2 separate regions of the Homo sapiens genome follow, and region 1 is linked to region 2. Evidence: promoter capture Hi-C in human tissues and cell types (Jung and others, 2019). All regions are on one chromosome and are shown on one strand. Each heading gives the region's core, a stretch centred on a gene start or on the middle of the fragment in contact. The rest is flanking DNA. Distances are from core to core; before and after follow the strand shown. Region 1 overlaps SLX4 (SLX4 structure-specific endonuclease subunit). Region 2 holds the start of MEFV (MEFV innate immunity regulator, pyrin).

Evidence for each region. Contacts are between HindIII fragments. The study calls those that stand out against the background at their distance.
Region 1: a fragment that was not itself captured here is called in contact with the fragment with the promoter of MEFV in region 2 in 1 of the 25 tissues and cell types used here (stomach).

The regions. Positions count from the first base shown.
Region 1 is chr16:3,585,200-3,590,201 of GRCh38, forward strand. It overlaps SLX4 (SLX4 structure-specific endonuclease subunit), which reads right to left. Exons shown (of 15, transcript NM_032444.4): 12 at 3,803-5,002. Among named protein-coding and RNA genes, the nearest start is that of NLRC3, 10 kb to the left of the region's middle. RefSeq lists enhancers at 2,209-2,278, 4,298-5,002. The HindIII fragment of the contact is 6,051 bases long and covers 1-5,002 here.
Region 2 is chr16:3,255,166-3,259,874 of GRCh38, forward strand. MEFV (MEFV innate immunity regulator, pyrin) reads right to left here and starts at 1,468. Exons shown (of 10, transcript NM_000243.3): 1 at 1,146-1,468. The coding sequence starts at 1,422. The HindIII fragment of the contact is 7,133 bases long and covers 254-4,709 here.

The sequences.
Region 1 (5,002 bases), core at 796-3,295, 330 kb after region 2:
GACAATGGGCCACACTGATACTCTTCAAACAGGCTTAGACATCAGTTTTGCTTTTTAAAAATAATTCATCAATTTAAAAAAACCCAGTTAAAAAATGGGCAAAGGGGCCGGGCGCGGTGGCTCACGCCTGTAATCCCAGCACTTTGGGAGGCCGAGGTGGGCGGATCACGAGGTCAGGAGATCGAGACCATCCTGGCTAACACGGTGAAACCCCGTCTCTATTAAAAATACAAAAAATTAGCTGGGCGTGGTGGCGGGCGCCTGTAGTCCCAGCTGCTTGGGAGGCTGAGGCAGGAGAATGGCGTGAACCTGGGAGGCGGAGCTTGCAGTGAGCCGAGATCACACCACTGCACTCCAGCCTGGGCGACAGAGCAAGACTCTGTCTCAAAAAAAAAAAAAAAAAAGGGCAAAGGATGTGAACAGACATTTCTCCAGAGAAGATCTACAAATGGCCAATAAGCACATGAAAAGGTGCCCGACATCATTAGTCATCAGGGAAATGCAAGTCAAAACCACAGTGAGATACCACTGCACGCCCACTAGGATGGCCATAACAAAAAACACAGAGGGTTTGGGCAAAATGGCAGAACCCTATCTCTACAAAAAAAAAAAAAAAAAAATACAAAAAAAGTTAGCAGGGTGTGGTGGCCCAAGTCACCAATGTGGGCAGCTGTTTGTGGCTGGTTCCAGCTACTCGGGAGGCTGAGGTGGGAGGATCACCTGAGCCAGGAAGGTTGAGGCTGCAGCAAGCCATGAACACGCCACTGCACTCCAGCCTGGGCGACAGAGCAAGACCTTGTCTCAAAACAATAACAACAACAACAAAAACAGAATAACAAGTGTTGGTGGAGATTTAAAATGGTGCAGTCACTTTGGAAAACAGTCTCGCAGTTCCTCACAATGCTAAACACAGTTGCCATATGACCCAGCAATTCCACTCCTAAGTACAGAACCAAGAAGAAGGAAAACATGTCTACACGAAAACTTGCACATCAATATTCCTAAGTGGCATTATTAATAACCACAAATTAAAAACAACCCGTGTGTCCACTAGTAGATGAATGGATAAGCAAAATGTGGCATACCATCAGTGGGGTATTAGACATACAAAGGAATGTATGCCCAAAGCCAGGGCAACATAGCAAGACCCAGTCTCTACTAAAAAAAAAAAATTAGCTGGGCATGGTGGCAGCTGCCTGTAGTCCCAGCTACTCAGGAGGTTGAGGTGGGAGGATCACTTGAGCCTGGGAGGTCGAGGCTACAATGAGCTGTAATTGCGCCACTGCACTTCAGCCTGGGTGACAGAGCAAGACCCCTGACTCAAAAACAGGCCAGGCACAGTGGCTCAGGCTTGTAATCCCAGCACTGTGGGAGACCAAAGTGGGTGGATCACTTGAGGTTAGGAGTTCGAGACCAGCTTGGCCAACATGGTGAAACCCCATCTGTACTAAAAATACAAAAAAATTAGCCGGGCATGGCATGGCGATGGGCGCTTGTAATCCCAGCTACTCGGGAGGCTGAGGCGGGAGAATCGCTTGGACCCAGGAGGTGGAGGTTGCAGTGAGCCGAGATCGTGCCACTGCACTCTAGCCTGGGCAACAGAGAGAGGCTCCGTCTCAAAAAAAAAAAAAAAGAATAAAAAGGAATAAAATACTGATCCATGCTACAACATGTATGAATCTTGAAAACTGTATGCTAACTGAAAGAAGCCAGACACAGACACAAAAGGCCACATATTAGTTATATATGGCTCTGTTTATATGAAATGTCCAGGACAGGCAAATCCATAGAGACAGAAAGGTTCTTGGTTGCCAGGGCTGGGGGAAGGGGAAGGTGAGAGACTGCTCATGGGTACAGGATTTTTGAGATGATGAAAATGTTCTAGAATTAGAGAGTGGGGACAATTGTACAACACTGTGAATGTACTGAGAAGCACTGAACTGTCCATTTTAAAAGGGTGGATATTATGGTATGTGAATTATATCTAAATAAAGCTGTTACTTTAAAAAATAATAGGCTGGGCGAGGTGGCTCACGCCTGTAATCCCAGCACTTTGGGAGGCCGAGGTGGGCGGATCACCTGAGGTCAGCAGCTCAAGACCAGCCTGATCAACATGGTGAAACCCGACTCTACTAAAAATACAAAAATTAGCTGGGCGTGGTGCTGGGTGCCTGTAATCCCAGCTACTCGGGAGGCTGAGGCAGGAGAATCCCTTGAACCCGAGAGGTGGAGGTTGCAGTGAGCCGAGATAGCCCCACTGCACTCCAGCCTGGTGACACATTGGAAACAGTCAGACTTTGGTTCTTCTGCCTTTTATGACCATGGAGCCCTTTGAGCCCCCGATGAAAGCGGCAGGCTCTGTCTCCTGAGAAAAGCACGATTCTTCCTGTGGCCGCAGCGTCGTCCTGAAGCCCACCTCAGATCTGCTGTGCAGCCTCCTGCAGCTGTTCTCACAGCACTGCCTGGGAACTGGTTAGAAATGCAAATTCTTAGTCACCCTCCCGAAGCAAGGCTCTGGGGCAGGCTGGGCCACGGGCGTGCTATAAGAAGCTCTCCAGGTGTTTCTGAAGCCCCTGAGGGCCGAGGACACTATCAGTGGCCTCATTCATCTGGATTTTGGGAGGAAATGGGCCCCCAGGCCGCAGGCAGGTGCTCACTCACAGCCTGGCCTTTCTCCCAGTCATGCTCAGCCCAGCCCGGCCTGTCCTTGCCCTCCCCGGAGGTGCCTGGATGGGAGCAGCAGCACCGAGGGGGCCGACACCTGGGGCTCTGACTCTCCCCGGGGACTGAAATGAGCAGGGAGGTGGCATCCCTGCACCTGGGAGGACCAGGAAGAACAGGCCTAACAGCCTCTCACACTTGTCCCACCTGATTCTTTTTTTAATTGAGGTGAAATTCACATAAAAAAATCGTAAAGGGAATAATTCAGTGGCATTAAGTATTCACAATGTTGTACAACCATCACCTCTATCTATTTGCAAAACATTTTCACCACCCCAAAAGGACACCCTGTATCCCATAAGCAGTCACTCCCCATTCCCCCTCCCTCCAACCCAGGCCAACCACTAACCTGCATTTTCTCTGGATTTGCCTATTCTAGACATTTCATATCCATGAGTGCAGACAGTACATGACCTTCTATGTCTGGCTTCTCTCACCCGGCAGCATGTTTTCTGGGTCGTCCACGCGGTAGCGTGTGGCAGTGCCTCACTCCTCTTTGTGGCTGAACACTATTCCATTTTCTAGTGGTCTAGATGGACCACGTTTGGTTTCCCTGTTCATCTCCTGACGGGCATTTGGGTTGCTTCCAGCTTTTGGCGATTGTGAACAGCGCTTCTATGAACATGCATGTCTGAGTCCCTGTTTTTAATTCTTTTGGATATACAGGTAAAAGTGGAATTGCTGGGTCCTGCAGTCAATCTACGGTTAACATTCTGGAGAACCACCCTGGTCCAATCTTAAGGCATGCCGATACTTGCTGAATGAGTTGTGGCCTTTGGAGGTGCCGGCTCCGTGTTCTGGAGAAGGGTCCACAGATGTGGATTTTTAACACATGCCCAGGTGAGCACTGGAGCCAGGCAAGTTTGGGAAACACTGACTTACTGGCTGAGAAGTGTAGCATGAGAACCAGCCCGGCTCTCCTCCACTGTGGAGGGGAGTCTGGAAGGCAGCGGAAGTGTCATGCCTCAGGTCAGCAGGCATTCAGAGGGCAGCCCCTGGGTCTCATGACTGATCTTCCCACCCTCTTAGTGTAAAATAGTAACAAAGACAGTCCCCTTCCCCAGCTCTCCTGGCTACTCACTGGGTGTCTCTAACCCTTCGGGCTTCTGAGCTCCACCAGCGCTTGGCATCTGGGCCGGAGGAGGGGTCTCTGGAGGCCTCTGCTCTTCCCCGTCCCAAACGTCCCACAGAGCCGAATTCAGAAAGCTCGGCCTGCTATTCCCCAGGGAGCCCGCGCCCGAGGACTTCTCTTGCAATTTCCTCTGGGTAGTGCAGCTTCCTCGGATGGGGGTGGTGTCCAGGAGTCCCGGGGAGCGACAGTCACGGCTGTCGGCGGCCTCGTTCATCCTGCGGCTGGGGCTGCTGGTGCTCAGGGGGCCGGTCCGCTCCAGGTTCCAGTGGTCAATGGGAATTGGCGAGAGGGGCTCCATGTGCCAGCAGCAGTCGTCAATTGGAATTGGGGGGTCACTGTCCAGTGGGGGGCTTCTGTTGGCCTGATGGGAGGCCACCTCCTGCTCATCGTCACTGTCTCCGACTTCCACCACTTCACCCGCTGGGGTCTGGTTCAGGAAGCTTGGCCCAGGCGGCGAGTGTTTCAGGAACCGCCTGCTGAAGTGGGCGCGGTCCCCTGAGATGGGATGTGGAGCCAGCGGAGAGGAGTGCGGGTGGCCCCCGGGGTGGGGACGGGAAGGGCTTCTGTGGCCTTGCCTTCTGCCGTCAGAAGTTCCTGGAGAGACGGGAGTGAGGCATGAGGACGGTGTCTGGGGCGGTGGTGTCTGGGGCCTGATGACAGAAAACTTCTGTGCGACTTCGTTCCCTTCCCTGTTTCCTACTGAGGCCCTGGGCGTGTGCTGAGTCACCGCCTGCACGGCCAGCCCGCTCCTGAGGCTGCTGATTTGGGTCTGGGAAGAACAGTCACGGCTTCTGCTGGCCAGCGGGGTGGCGGGCACCAGCCACGAGGTGTCTGTGGTGCTGGCCTCGCTGGGGCTGCTCTCACGGTCACAGAACAGCCAGGGAGCCCCTCTCCTGCCCAAAGAGCCCCGATTCTCCGGCAGCGCCCCCTCATCCTCCTGCTGCAGCACAGCTTCGCTTCTTGGTGGGCTCTGGGAAGGTTCCTGATCTGCATCAACATCAATGATGGAAAACAGCTCACAGGACCTAGGGCTAATTTCTAGAGCTTTCTTTTCTTCCAGAGGATCACTAGAAATGGACTTCATTTTGGTTTGTTCTAGCTCCAGCTCCTCATCCGAGTCCAGTAAGAGGATGACCTCATCTTCTTCGT
Region 2 (4,709 bases), core at 218-2,717:
ACTCAGCCAGACGCGGTGGTGCGCACCTGTAGTCCCAGCTACTCGGGAGGCTGAGGCATGAGAATCGCTTGAGCCCGGGATGTGGAGGTTGCAGTGAGCTGAGATCGGGCCACTGCACTCCAGCCTGAGTGACAGAGCAAGACTCCATCTCAAAAACAAAAGTTCAGGACTTCCTAGACTAGACAATGGCAGTCAATTACCATTCAGTAAGAACATGCTTGATGTTGCTATGTATTTCTCTCTCTCTTATTTTATTTTTTGAGACAGGATCTTGCTCTGTTGCCCTGATGTGATCTCAGCTCACTGCAACCTCTGCCTCCCAGGCTCAAGCAATCCTCTCACCTCAGCCTGTTTTCTGTTTTTTCAATAGCTGAAAATACAGGTGTGTGCTACCACGCCTGGCTCATTTTTTTGTATTTTTGGTAGAGACAGGGTTTCACCATGTTGCCCAAGCTGGTCTCAAACTCCTGAGCTCTAGCAATCCACCCACCTTAGCCTCCCAAAGTGCTGAGATTATTTATAAGTGTGAGCCACCATGCCTAGCCTATATTTCTCAAATAGTACTTTTCAAACGTTTTAAGCAGGACAACTGTTTCAAATAAGATCTTACACAGGTCAGCAAAACCCAGATTATACGCTTTAAAAATAAAAATAAGCCGGGCACGGTGGCCTATGTCTGAAATCCCAGCACTTTGGGAGGCTGAGGCGGGAGGATCACTTGAGGTCAGGAGTTCGAGACCAGCCTGGCCAACATGGTGAACAGCACTGAGAAGATTCTATACCAACCCCGTTCATATGATTGCATAGCAATCCCTTTTTGCTAACCTAGAGATGTTTGTCTGACATGAGTATTAATCATAAATGTAGTGAAGAAGTCTCAAAGAACAGGTGTTCCAGCTCCTGCCTTTCGTGACCCTGACCTGCTTCTTAAAAAACCCATTAGGAGCCTGAAGGAAGTTTACTAACCCAGTTCCAAAGGCCAGAGTGAAGAAAGGGACGTTCCTGAACTAAAGTCATCTGGATTTTGGTAGACCTGAGACTCCCAATCCCCAGGTCAGAGTGAGCTGCTCTGAGCTCCTGGTCCCCTTTCCCACAAAGCAGCCAGCACTCAGCACTGGATGAGGAGGAGGCCTGGGCCCGCTTACCCTGAATGGCTGCCCTGTGGAGCTCCTCGGCCAGCAGGCGCTGGTTGATGGCCCGCAGGACCTGCAGGGTGAGCTGCACGGCGTACTCTTCCCCATAGTAGGTGACCAGCAGAGTGGCCATCTTCACCGGCCTGGCTCTCTGGATCTGGCTCCGGGGGATCCTGGAGTGCTCCTTCTGCACACTGGTGTTCTGCAGCTTGAACTTGAACTTCTCGAAGTCATAGGGCACCAGCTCCTCCAGGGTGGACAGCAGATGGTCACTAGGGGTCTTAGCCATGGTGCTGAGCAGGAGAGGCTCGAGCCAGCTGTCTGGCTTCTGGTAGGAAAAGAAGCCTCTGTCCTTGGTGAGCAAGAAAAGGCAGGTTGTGAAATAGCGGAAAAGGCACAGGAAATGCTCTGTGTCTTGGTGGGAACTGAGACTAAGGGTAAGGGTGTGTCCATGCCGGCTGTGTTCTCTTCTTACAGGTTCAGAGGATTTTCCAGCTGGGAGGGCTCCATGCCTTGGCAGACATGTGCCCCCACACCCCTCCCAAACCCTGGACCTCGCCTCCACACTAGACCACAGACAGATGGGCAAGTCTGCAAGGGAAGGTCTGGGATTGGATTCCAGACACCCCCTCCAATCTTCCTTCCTGCCAGGATCTGGGGCTGGCAGAGCGGGTGAGTGGGAACAGAGAGGACTATGCTGAGGGCCCGCCCTGCTGGTCAACTGTTCTCCTCCAGACTCGGGGTTTCAGGGACCTTCCAGAGCCAATGGCACAGGACGGGGGAAGGGGTGGGCACTGAATACAGTCCTGTGAGCTTTGCCTTTCCTGGCCCAAGAAGGCAAGTGAGGCCAGAAGGGCACTGCCAGGAGATAACTCTTGCCATGCCATCACCCCTGTTGATCCGGTTCCAGTTGACTGGTTCTTCCAGCCACATGAAGGACTTGAAAAGCAATGCCTGGACCACCAGCCTGACTCATCTGTTCCCAGAGCTGACTCAGTCCTCGCTCCCTGGAGCCAGAATGCTCTTCCGTGCACATTCATTGAACATTCTAGACAGTGTGCCAAGATGCTGGAGCTACACGGGTGAAAAGGCACGGGTGTCCTTCAGCTCATATGTGGTGCAGGGCCCCAGAGGTGGCTTTGAAGCTAACAGAAGTTACATGTTGGGGGCAGGGCACAGTGGCTAACGCCTGTAATCCCAGCACTTTGGGAGGCCGAGGTGGGTGGATCACCTCAGGTTGGGAGTACAAGACCAGCCTGGCCAACACAGTAAAACCCCATCTCTACTAAAAATACAAAAATTAGCCAGGCATGGTGGCACGCACCTGTACTCCCAGCTACTCAGGAGGCTGAGGCAGGAGAATCACTTGAACATGGGAGGCAGATGTTGCAGTGAGCCGAGGTTGCGCCATTGTACTCCAGCTTGGGCGACAGAGCGGGACTTTGTCTCAAAAAAAATAAATAAATGAAAAATTACATGTAGGGTGAACTGACTCCTCACTTACCTACTTCTGACCGTTGCATACCCTAATTTTTTTATTTTTAGATAGGGTCTTGCTCAGTCACTCAGGCTGGAGTGCAGTAGTGGGATCTTGGCTCACTGCAACTTCTGCCTCCTGGGCTTGAGCAACCCTCCAACCTCAGCCTCCCAAGTAGCTGAGACTACAGGTGCATTCCACCACATCTGGCCAATTTTTGTATTTTTTATAGAGACAGGGTCTCACTATGTTGCGCAGGCTGGTCTTGAACTCCTGATCTCAAGCGATCCACTCGCTTTGGCCTCCCAAAGTGCTGGGATTACAGGTGTGAGCCACTGCGCCCGGCCAGAAGTTTTGTTAATAATGCAATTTACCCTTCACCAGCACTTCCTCGGCACCAGCCACCACTAGCTTTATAAACACTTCCTCCTAGAATCTCTGCAGCACCCTGCAGGGCTGCGTTTATCATCCCCCTGTGCAGCCAAGAATCTGTAGCTTAGTGACTTGCCTAGAGCCAAGATCCAAACGTCAAACCACTTCACAACATCGTCTCCTGCATGACAATAATTTGTGATTTTACTGTTAATGACTACCCATGGATGTCACATTTCCAGCTGACCACTGAGGTCCAGGATGGGTCACTTCCACAGGTCAGTCACAACATTGCGACGCCTAGCTGAACACCCAGCTCTGGGTGTGAGCTCCTCTGTGTGTGCCCAGCCTGGGATTCAAGGCTTTGATGAGTTCTGGTTGGTTGAATTTAACTTACTGTCCAGCTGGTCCACCTGTTTCCTATTTCACAGAGTATTTGGTGTTTTTGCATTGTTTTCATAGCTGACAACAAACATGCAGTTTGCTAGATCTTTCTGAGCCCAAACCCAACATCTTCCCTAAAAAAAGGGTGAATTGGGCTGGGTGTAGTGGCTCACACCTGCAATCCCAGCCCTTGGGAGGCTGAGACAGGAGGATTACTTAAGCCCAAGAGTTTGAGATTAGCCTGGGCAACATAAGGAGACCCTGCCTCTACAAAAAATAGAAAAAATATTAGCTGGGTGTGGTGGCACACACTGGTGGTCCCTGCTGCTACTCAGGAGGCTGAGGTGGGAAGATTGCTTGAGCCTAGGTTCAGGCTGCAATGAGCTGTGATTGCACCACTGCTCTCCAGCCTGGGTGACACAGCAAGACACCCTGTCTCAAAAAAAAAAAAAAAAAAAAAAAAAAAAAGTGGATGAAATGCACATTGATGGTGCAGACAGCAGATTTTTGGAATTTTTAGGCTGGGCCAGAAGAAGGGTGTTGAATGGGGTATCACTGGGGCCAGCACCCGTCCCTGACTCTGGACGGTGGCAACCCAGCACCTCCCAGGCAGTCTCCCACTACCAGATGGAGAAAGGATGAGACTGTGCAGTGACGCTGTGGGTGCTGTGTGATCCCATCTCGTCTGGTCAGAAAACTCCTCGGAGCTGATACCAAAACCCCATGACAGAATTGGGCAGGGAATGATACTTTCTGGTCTAAAGCAGGATATTTTGCAATTGCGGTGACACGTTTTGCAACAGAGGCTGCTCTGAGGCAGGACTTCTGGAAGGCAGTGTTTTGATGCCACTTTGGACTTTCTAGGGCAAGGCAGGCTCACAAAGCTTTTGTTTGGAGGGGTTCCAGTAATTTCTCACAGTGAAAATAGAATTATTGCCCTTCTAACGTCATTTAAGTGTTTAATAATCAAAGTGGAATGGTCATGGGCTGTCTTGTGTGCCCCTGCCATTGGATGTGTGACCTTATTTGGGGTGACATGGCAAATCTAAACCCAACAAAGCTGCTGCAAAGGGTCTACTCTCGGCTATTACTCCTGGGAAATGTGCGGCTCAGACACCACGACCTTCACTCCACTCCTGGTCACCAGGGGTTTCACTTTCTATGGCATTTACTTCTGCACATTTTGGGATTTAAAAAAATGAAGATTGTATTACTTTCGTAATAAGCAAAAAAGATAGTTTTAAAAAGTCTTTCAGACCAGGTGTGGTGGCGCACGCCTGTAATTTCAACACTTTGGAAGGCCGAGACAGGTGGATCACTTGAGGTCAGGAGTTCCAGACCAG